2 separate regions of the Homo sapiens genome follow, and region 2 is linked to region 1. The links are contacts of gene promoters, found by promoter capture Hi-C in blood cells and fetal thymus (Javierre and others, 2016). All regions are on one chromosome and are shown on one strand. Each heading gives the region's core, a stretch centred on a gene start or on the middle of the fragment in contact. The rest is flanking DNA. Distances are from core to core; before and after follow the strand shown.

Region 1 (4,433 bases), core at 738-3,237:
TTCCTATAACCCCATTATGTACCAATCCATTGCCTTTATGGAAATGAGAGGAGCAGAAAATAAGCAATGTTTAATTCACATGTTTACTACTTTTTGGAATTGAGTTATTCTAACTGAATATTAAGAAAAATGATGCTTATAATTTCCAAGTACACTTTTTTTCAGTAAGTGCAGTTAACACTATACTGACTATAATATCGTATCTATACTGACTATAATTTCAATTTTCTTGAATATTTCAAAGAGCAGCTTGAGGTCTTTCGGGTACACTTCATGATTACAAACATTAAAAAATCATGATTACAAATTAAAATCTGGTCTATTTTATAAATCGACCCTGAAAATACCGTATTTAGGCTCAAAATAAATCAAAGCTGTCAATATATAGTAAAGCAAAATCTTAAACCTATATTTCAACCAATTTCTCTCTACAAGAAGTGAGTGAAATCTTTCCTAACTCCTACACCAAGAGACCTAATAAATCCCTTAAGGTGTTATTCTTTATGGGCTACAAGATCAAATATGTTGGGAAGTATTTACATAGACATGTTGTCTACAGAGATTGAGATATATTAATATACAGTTCTAAAAGAAAAACCAAATACCATTCAGCGTCCGACACTGGAAGCCCTGAATTCTAAGTGGAAAAGTTATCCCTTTCACCAAAAATGTAGAAAACAAGGCAGAAAATACTTCCCGGTCATTTCCTTAATTTTTTAAAAATTGCATTACACACCTATAAATGTATTAGTATCAATCAAATCAAGTTTAAGAGGGACTTTGTGCTGCTTCCTGTTCTTGGGAATTAAGTCGGACCAGAAAGTGCTATGCATAAGTAAGATCCTTCAGAAAGAAACAAGGTCAGAATCCTAAGACATCACAAAAGGTAGACAAAGCTTTTTCCATCCCACACAAGCGCCAGAGACAGCAGCCTGTTACCAACTTAGGCATGGTCACATTTGCAATGCACCACTTCCTTCGCACGCCCCAGGAGCTCTATAAAATGAAAGTAACTTAAAAGGTGGGGGGGGCGTATAATCGTCTGATGCAACAGCAGTATGGCCCACACAGACTTCGGGCTCTGGGCAGTGACTGGGTTCTCTGTTTAGATTTAGAAAAAGCATGGGGCCGGGGCGCTGGCCTGAAAACTTACGATGGAGCTGTATGTATCGGGGTGGGGAGTGCGAATGAATGAATGAAAAAAAGGAGCGGACTAACTCCTATTCTCCTATCCCCACCTCCCACAATATCGATTATTTAAATGTTACAAGATTTTCTAGGCTCCTGAACACAGGGGCCCTTGTGGGGCCGTCTCTGGAAGCGCTGGGAGTCCAGGCGGTCCCCGGGGCTCTCTCCTGCCCCTTCTGCCGCGACAATGACTTTCTCCTAGAGACAGCCGCCTACACTTGCACTTGTTCCTCGTGGCCCCGGGGAAGGGCAAGTGGCGAGGAGGAAAGAGAGGAGGAAAGGAGCTTTTTGCCCCTGGTGAAACGCAGCTGCATCCCAATCGCAAATCCGGCTTGGTCCCTCGCCGTACCCGCCGTACCCGCCGGTCCTGGGGAAAAACCCCGAAGAACTTTCTGGAGGCGCCCCTAAGGCTCGCGCCAGGGCACAGACCTGGCCCGACCTTGACCCCCGTGCAGTCTGTGCTTGAGCCCCGGCGAGCTGAGCCCGCCCCAGCCGAGACCTCGACCCCGGCCCCGACCCCGCCCGGCCTGGGTCTTCGCTGGCCCCAGCGGGTCGGTACCTGCTGGAGCCCGCGCGGGGCTCGGTTGAGCGTTCTTGCGCGCCTTCTTCCCAGGCATCTCCGCCGGTGCCGCCGCCCACTCAGCTACAGAGCCCGGGAACCTCAGCCTCCAACTGGAGCACCTCGGACAGCTGCAGGACGCGAGCTGAACACGAACAGTCCTGCAGGCAGGGATGCTGGGATCGGGTGTCCGGACGCGCGGAGATGCCAACTACACACGGTGAGTGCCCGGGAAACTCTGAGATCCCCGCGCCAGAGACCACGCTTTTGTCCAGTGAGAACTTCCCTGGTGACGTAGGGAAACTAGACGCCCGGCCCGCCCCTGTCCCCGCCCCTGTCCCCGCCCCGCAGACGGCGTTATGGGAGCGGACGCGGGACGCGGGCGGGGAAGTACCCCGCTGAGCGCGACCTGCCCGGACACGCTCCCGACCCGCGGCGGCGCCGACCCGCGGCGGGGGGCGCAGAGCGCTCGGCCCCGAAATTACTTCCTTACAAAACGAGGTGGGAGGAGAAGGGGGTCGGCTTTGACCATCTGCAAACGCTGGACGTCGTCAGCGGCAGTGGTGGCGGGAGCTGGGAGTGGCGGGAGCTGGGAGTGGCGGGAGGGGAAGGGTTTAACCAGGAGGAACGTTGTGGGTGGGGAGAGACCAGAGGCCTTGGCAATTAGAGACTTGGGTAAACAAGCCCAGAAAAGAGATTGGAAAAGGAAACTTTTCGAACTTGAAGAGTATGGGCAGTAACAGGGAAGGGAAATGAGAAGAACCTTAATCACCGCAGAGGAGATGCCAGAGGCCCTGTGAGAAAGCTCCGGGTCCCAGGAAGTCACTGCAAACAGAAGCCCTGGTGCCAGCCAGAAAGAACATCGTGTTTGAGTTGGGAAGGGATTTGTGTGTGTCCTTCCAGATAGGTCGATATCGCCCATTGTGGATGTTTAGCAAAAACGAGTGGATCGTTATCATATGGAAAACGTTCAAATCTTTTGTGGGAGGGCTGAGCTACCTGGGAACGTGAAATTATTTGCATAATGTTTGGCGAGGCCATGAGTAATTCTACTATTATGAAGAGGAGTAATTAGGAGTGGTTAACGGTTACTGAGAGCCGCTTCATGCTAAGGACTTTGACATGCATTTTCTCATTCCGTCCTCAGAACAACCGTTGCTACTTTACGGGTGCAGAAACTGAGGTTTGTAGAAAATTGCCCAAGTTCACTTAGGCAGAGAGCACTGCCCTGATTCCGAACCAGGCAGGCCCACAGAGAGCAAGAGCTCTTACCCACTGTAGCCTTCCCAGCAATCAGTTTCTTAGAAAATGTGTGTTTTCGCCGAACGCGGTGGCTCACGCCTGTAATCCCAGCTCTTTGGGAGGCCGAGGCGGGTGGTTCGTTTGAGGCCAGGAGTTCGAGACCAGCCTTGCCAATATGGTGAAACCCCGTCTCTACTGAAATACAAAAGATTAGCCGGCCTTGGTGGTGCACGCCTGTCGTCCCAGTTGCTTGGGCGGCTGAGGCACGAGAATCGCTTGAACCTGGGAGGCGGAGGTTGCAGTGAGCCGAGATCGCGCCACTGCATTCCAGCCTGGGTGACGGAATAAGACTCTGTCTCAAAAAAGAAAAAGAAAAAAAAAGCGTGTTTTCATATTAGCTGTGCTGTTTAATGAAAAGATTGCAAATTCGTTGCATGGGCTCCCTAGAAGTGCTTAGTTTGGTTTACAGTATTGGCCTTCAAAATGTATTGTAAAAATTTGAATTGATTACCAACATTTTAAACATTGAGGGATTGCATGAAAAACCCAGATTCCAGCATCTCTTGGAAAACCAGAATCTCTGACAACGTGGGATCCATTTTCCAAAAGTGCAAACTAGGTTTGAAGTGTGGTCGAAGCCACACCCTTTAGAGGAACCTAGGGTGCTCCTGTTCACCACACTCCCCGCTGTTTGCTTTTCCCATTTACATTATCTGGCCTCAGTAGGCATTTGAGGTTGTTTATTTATCTTAAATCATTCAGTCAACACAAACCAGCAAGTATTTATTTATGGCTTGGTCCTGCTGAAGGTATGGACAACAATATAAGCATGGAACAAAACTGCTCTTGAGTTTAAACAACATAGTTTCGAGGCTGATGTTGGCTGTTTTTGAATGGGGTATATACAAACGAGTAAAAGTGGACAGAATTTAGGAATCATCACAAGACGCAGGAAGCACACTGGAGATGCTGCCTTGAAATCTATTATCCCCAAGTGGTAATTCAAAACCACTCCAGGCTCATTTTGACTTACCTAATACATAAGGAACACCGTTAACTTTTTGGTTGCATAAATTATTAAATTTCTGTCGTTCAAATACGCACCCTGAAATGCAGAGAATATACTCAACAACCACCAAAAAAAAAAAAAAAAAGTGAATCACAACATTGTTTACCTATAAAAGGTATGTTAATCCCATCCTCTAACATTTTCATTAGAAAAGAATTGGTCATGTGACTCACACTGGCTACAAACCTTAGGCAACTCTGTTTTTTAGGGAATTGCAAATTCAGCTTGCAAGGAGGAAAAGAGCGGAAAGAAGTCGGGCGAGGTGGGTTTTGGACATGGGTCAGATTCAGCTGGTTTATAGAGGACTTTTAAAGATTTAGGATTTGAGATGGTCCATAAACTCTTTGGCAGATCTAACATTCTCTAAAGAGAATT
Region 2 (4,433 bases), core at 862-3,361, 660 kb before region 1:
TGTGACAACGAGTATCCATAGAGAGTTCATTCAATCATCTTTCACAAGTAAGCCAGAATTGGGTTGTCAGAATTGCGTAAATAGATGCAATTCTTTCGCTAGGTTCTCTCTAGAAGAATGGGAAAAGATAGGTCTAGTTAGATCAAAGAACATGCCAGCCAATGGTTTTGTTTTTTCTCTTCCAAAAATTAAAAGGGGAAAGAAACACGTCAAAAACAGCACATATATTTATAGGAGCTTGTGAATCTTAGACACATGTCAAAACTTTCCTTTTTAGTCAGGCTAATAAATTTAGCCACTGCAACACACCCCGAAAATCTCAGTAGCTTAACAAAACAGAGGTTTATTTCTCACTGTCACCAAAACTCAGTGAAGGCCAGGTGCAGTGATTCAGGCCTGTAATCCCAACACTTTGGGAGGCTGAGGTGGAGGGATCACTAGAGCCCAGGATTTCAAGACCAACCTGGGCAATTTAGGGAGACTCATCTCTACAAAAGAAAAAATTTAAACCAACTAGGTATGCGGGGGCTCACCTGCAGTCTCAGCTACTGGGGCAGGAGTAGGACAGTTGGGAGACATAGAGGATGGGTTGCAGATGTGGGAGGGATTTTTAAGCCCACGATTTTGAGGCCACAGTGATCTATAATTGCACCATACCACTCCAGCCTGGGTGACAGAGCAAGACCCTGACTCAAAAAAAGGCATGCAGTGGGGGGAATTTTGGCAGCCTCCTGGGCAACTTTCCTCCAAAATGAATTAGTGATCCAAATTCAGTCCAACTTGTGAACCCACTGCCTTTGGCATGCAGGCCCCACAATGCTGCAGAAAGGGAAGAGGAGGAATGAGTGAACACGTAGGGGTCTCATGCTGGTGCCTGAGGTGGCAGACATCACTTCCACACTTGAACCAGGTATCTTGAACATGGGCCTCACTGAAACTGGAGGGTAAGCTAAGAGTCTAGGGGAGCCATTAGCCTCTCCTGCAGCTACTTAAGAGACACATTTATCAGCAGATCTAAGGGACTTCCCTCATCCAAGACATCTCAGTTTTACTAGAAAGAGCACCTTAGTGCTTATCCTATATTCATGCTTACATTTACAATAATTTCCTAAAGACAGCATTTCACATCAAATTAAATAGTACTTTCTTCTCTATGCCCATATATGGTGGGAAATAGGTATATTATCTATTTGGGGGATTTTAATTATGGTATAAAAATAACAGCTAATTAACAGGTAACATATATGTGGTGATACATTAATGAGCTTAATTTGTTATATAACTGAAAATGTGCCTCTGTTTTACAAAGACACATCCATTTCATCATTTCTTTATATCATATTTTATACTTTCTATCTTTAATTGCCCTCAGGACTTATCATATCTTCCACCAGACTTCAAAATAAATATCTTTCAATAATAATTAAAATGATCAATAAATAGCAGTATTTTGGTACTTGTTGTTACATTTAAATATACTAAAATCCAAATAAAAAATTATGAATGAATAAAATCTGCTTTCCACATTTCCTTAATTGAAATTTCTGACTTCTGATTGATGTGAATAAGCTTTCTAAAAGTAAATCTCAGGAGAGTGTTCAACTAATAATGTCCTCAAAACATTTATATTGTTTTCTTTCCCTATATGTTGGCTTTGTCAGTCTTACAAATATTTGTTTCTTCTAACTTTTCAGCATGGACAAAATAAACAGCATCAAGCTTCTTATATGACTTCAAAAATTCATTCCTTTTAAATAGATATGTTCATAACAAAGCTAGGCCCTTCGCAGTTGGTAACAAACATAGCTACCTTTAAAATCTTAAAAGAATGCAAAGACCTAGGGAACATAGGTGATATCTGAGAGAAATGTTTTACAAAACAAAGTCTTCAAATAAAAGAAATATATGTACTTAGCTATAAGCATTTTGGAAAAACACAATACACATCCAAGATAAATACCATAAGGCACAGCAGCAATAGATTCCAGATTCTGAGAGGAGAGGATACGAATATAGAATGATAATTGGAGTCTAAAGCAATCAACCGGGCAACAACAACAAATGCTACATAATTGTACAACTATTTGCATATATGAGAAATCAAAACTACAAAGAACAGTGGGTTTTTTTGCAAAGTCCTTGAGAGTTTAGTCTACAAAGTAAATTTTAAATGATTTTTTTGTTTGTTTGGAAAGGTCTCAGTGTGAAATACTTTATAAATGACACCTAATTAAGACTTAAATTGCCTCTATCAGAATGAAAAGATTTCCTTTTCAAAACAGTCTTGAAGTAAGTTGTATCTTGATGCAGAGATTTCACTGGACAAATTAAATATACAGTATACATAAGGGCACAGAGAGAGAATGACCAGTTCTGTTTTTGGGAGCACTTACTTGTGCTTTTATAAGAACAAACAATTAACTAGGTTTTGAAGCTATCTTGTAAAGACTGGGGAAAGCATCCCAAGCAAAGGAGACTATAGGTCTAAGGGTATAAAGCTTTGAAATTCTTAGTTATGAGGAAATCATGGAGACTACAGCTTGTTGGAGCACTGAGATGGAGATGTGGTAGTGAGAATGTGGATTGGAGCTATCTGCATTCATCTAACCTAAAGACCACCATGCCTGCTGCACCTACTGTCTTACAAGTAAGTGCTCAATTACAGAAACTTCGCTAAACATGGGAGGCATGACATTTGCAATACTCCCTTGAGCATAGTCACTAAAATTGGTTTCTTTTATCTACAGGGATCCAGGCTGTAAATTCCAGTCAGTGCTCCCCACTTCCTGAGGCTTCATGGCTCTCTGACCTTGACTTGCTCCTGCCCTCTGCTCCAGCAGGCTTTGTCAGGGCTAAGCAAGTATTTCCCTTATTATGTGAACCCAGAAGAAGAGGACTAAAGCTAATGTGACCTCTCACCACTCTCTCTCTGTCTCTGTCTCTCTCTCTCTCTCACACACACACACACACACACACACACACACACACACCCACACATGCCCACACATATATATCTGGAAGGTACAGGAGTTGAGTTAAAGCATTACTGTTTTACCTGCATATTACTGTTAATGCTGGAAATATACAGGTATTTACCTTTAGTTTTTAGTGTTATGTGTGGGAAGGATGAATGCTGGCGGGGGTGGGGGGCGGATTTAATTCTACCAGCAGCTTTTGTTAGATGAAACATCAGAAGATTTACTTATTGTAAAAGGCATTTGTCCTTTTTCAGTCTCTCAAAGCTCAGAAGGTCAGCAGCTCCAAAGGACATTGTTCTGTGTTGAATATAATGAAATCCATGCTTTGTCCTCTGTGACAATAATGGGGAATATTCTTAAATTTGACTGGCTGATGGGGCATGAAATTCAATTACTGTTCATTCAAGTATTGTTTGAGCTATACAAGTTTGTTCTTTTGTAAAATTTAACAAATAGAAGGGAAATAGAGTGTCTTCCAGTTGAAAGATATAATTGACATTGTTATTCTGTAATTATAATTACCTTTATAATCCATTACCTTTTGAAGTCTGCTCTCCAAAAAAGAAATTAAACAAAAGAAGATAACAGAGAAACCTTGAATAATTTGGCTAGATCACTTGCATCAATGCAGCAAGTTTTCAACTTAAAATTTTCTAGCAATTATTTTAACATAAATAAGTTGGGAACACATTTTGTCATGACATCGAATCTCATTTAATTATTCCATCAAAGATAGAGTATCCATTCTGAAATATTGATATCAAATGATAAATCATTTTCTCTTGAACCAGAATCTGCCTTCTCATTAGTTTCTGTGATACCCAAATAACTTCATTCTTTCTACAAAGATGAAAATATTGGGTCAACCTTTTCTTTGAAACTTTCCATTTCTACATGATGGATTATAGTTATTTTGGAGAATAGTTACAATTTTCTTATCATCTTAGAAAGCTATAGAATAAATTATTGGCTTTTATGAAAGGATTGCAATTCTATTTTTATAAGCCTTCAATTTCTACATATATTTAAAATGCTGGTGCTTAATTTAGGTTTCTCTTGGGTTAGAATGTAAAGCATGAGCATTGTGTACTATAACTTTGCAGACTGTATTCGTAAATGGCCATTTGCTTTTACTTAGAAATTTTCTGATTTCAAGCACCATGACTACAGATGAGCAATATAATCTTCCTAACAACATTATCACTGAATAGGTGTGGTCAACAGCAAATAATTTCAATTTGGTTTTTACATTCAAATGTTATTTAAAAAAATAAAAAAATATTTTGAAGCTAAGAAATATTAGAAAGTTAAAGCAAGAATAATAAATCTTGCAAGTTCTGTTTCTTAACTTAATTAGTCTAGTTTAACCTATGCTGTGGTGTCAGATTTTGGTTAAAACATACTTCTTTTCTGAAGTGTGTTCAAATCATTTGTCTATTTTTTATTTATTGGGTT

Evidence for each region. The method cuts DNA at HindIII sites, captures the fragments that hold promoters and counts their contacts. A CHiCAGO score of 5 or more calls a contact.
Region 2: a fragment that was not itself captured here is called in contact with the fragment with the promoter of PMAIP1 in region 1 in 1 of 17 cell types (M0 macrophages); the score reaches 6.7 in M0 macrophages.

Annotation. Positions count from the first base shown.
Region 1 is chr18:59,897,550-59,901,982 of GRCh38, reverse strand. PMAIP1 (phorbol-12-myristate-13-acetate-induced protein 1) reads right to left here and starts at 1,987. Exons shown (of 2, transcript NM_021127.3): 1 at 1,748-1,987. The coding sequence starts at 1,805. RefSeq lists silencers at 1,621-1,830, 1,981-2,390 and an enhancer at 2,147-2,898. The HindIII fragment of the contact is 10,069 bases long and covers 899-4,433 here.
Region 2 is chr18:60,559,145-60,563,577 of GRCh38, reverse strand. No RefSeq gene overlaps it. Among named protein-coding and RNA genes, the nearest start is that of MC4R, 190 kb to the right of the region's middle. The HindIII fragment of the contact is 779 bases long and covers 1,722-2,500 here.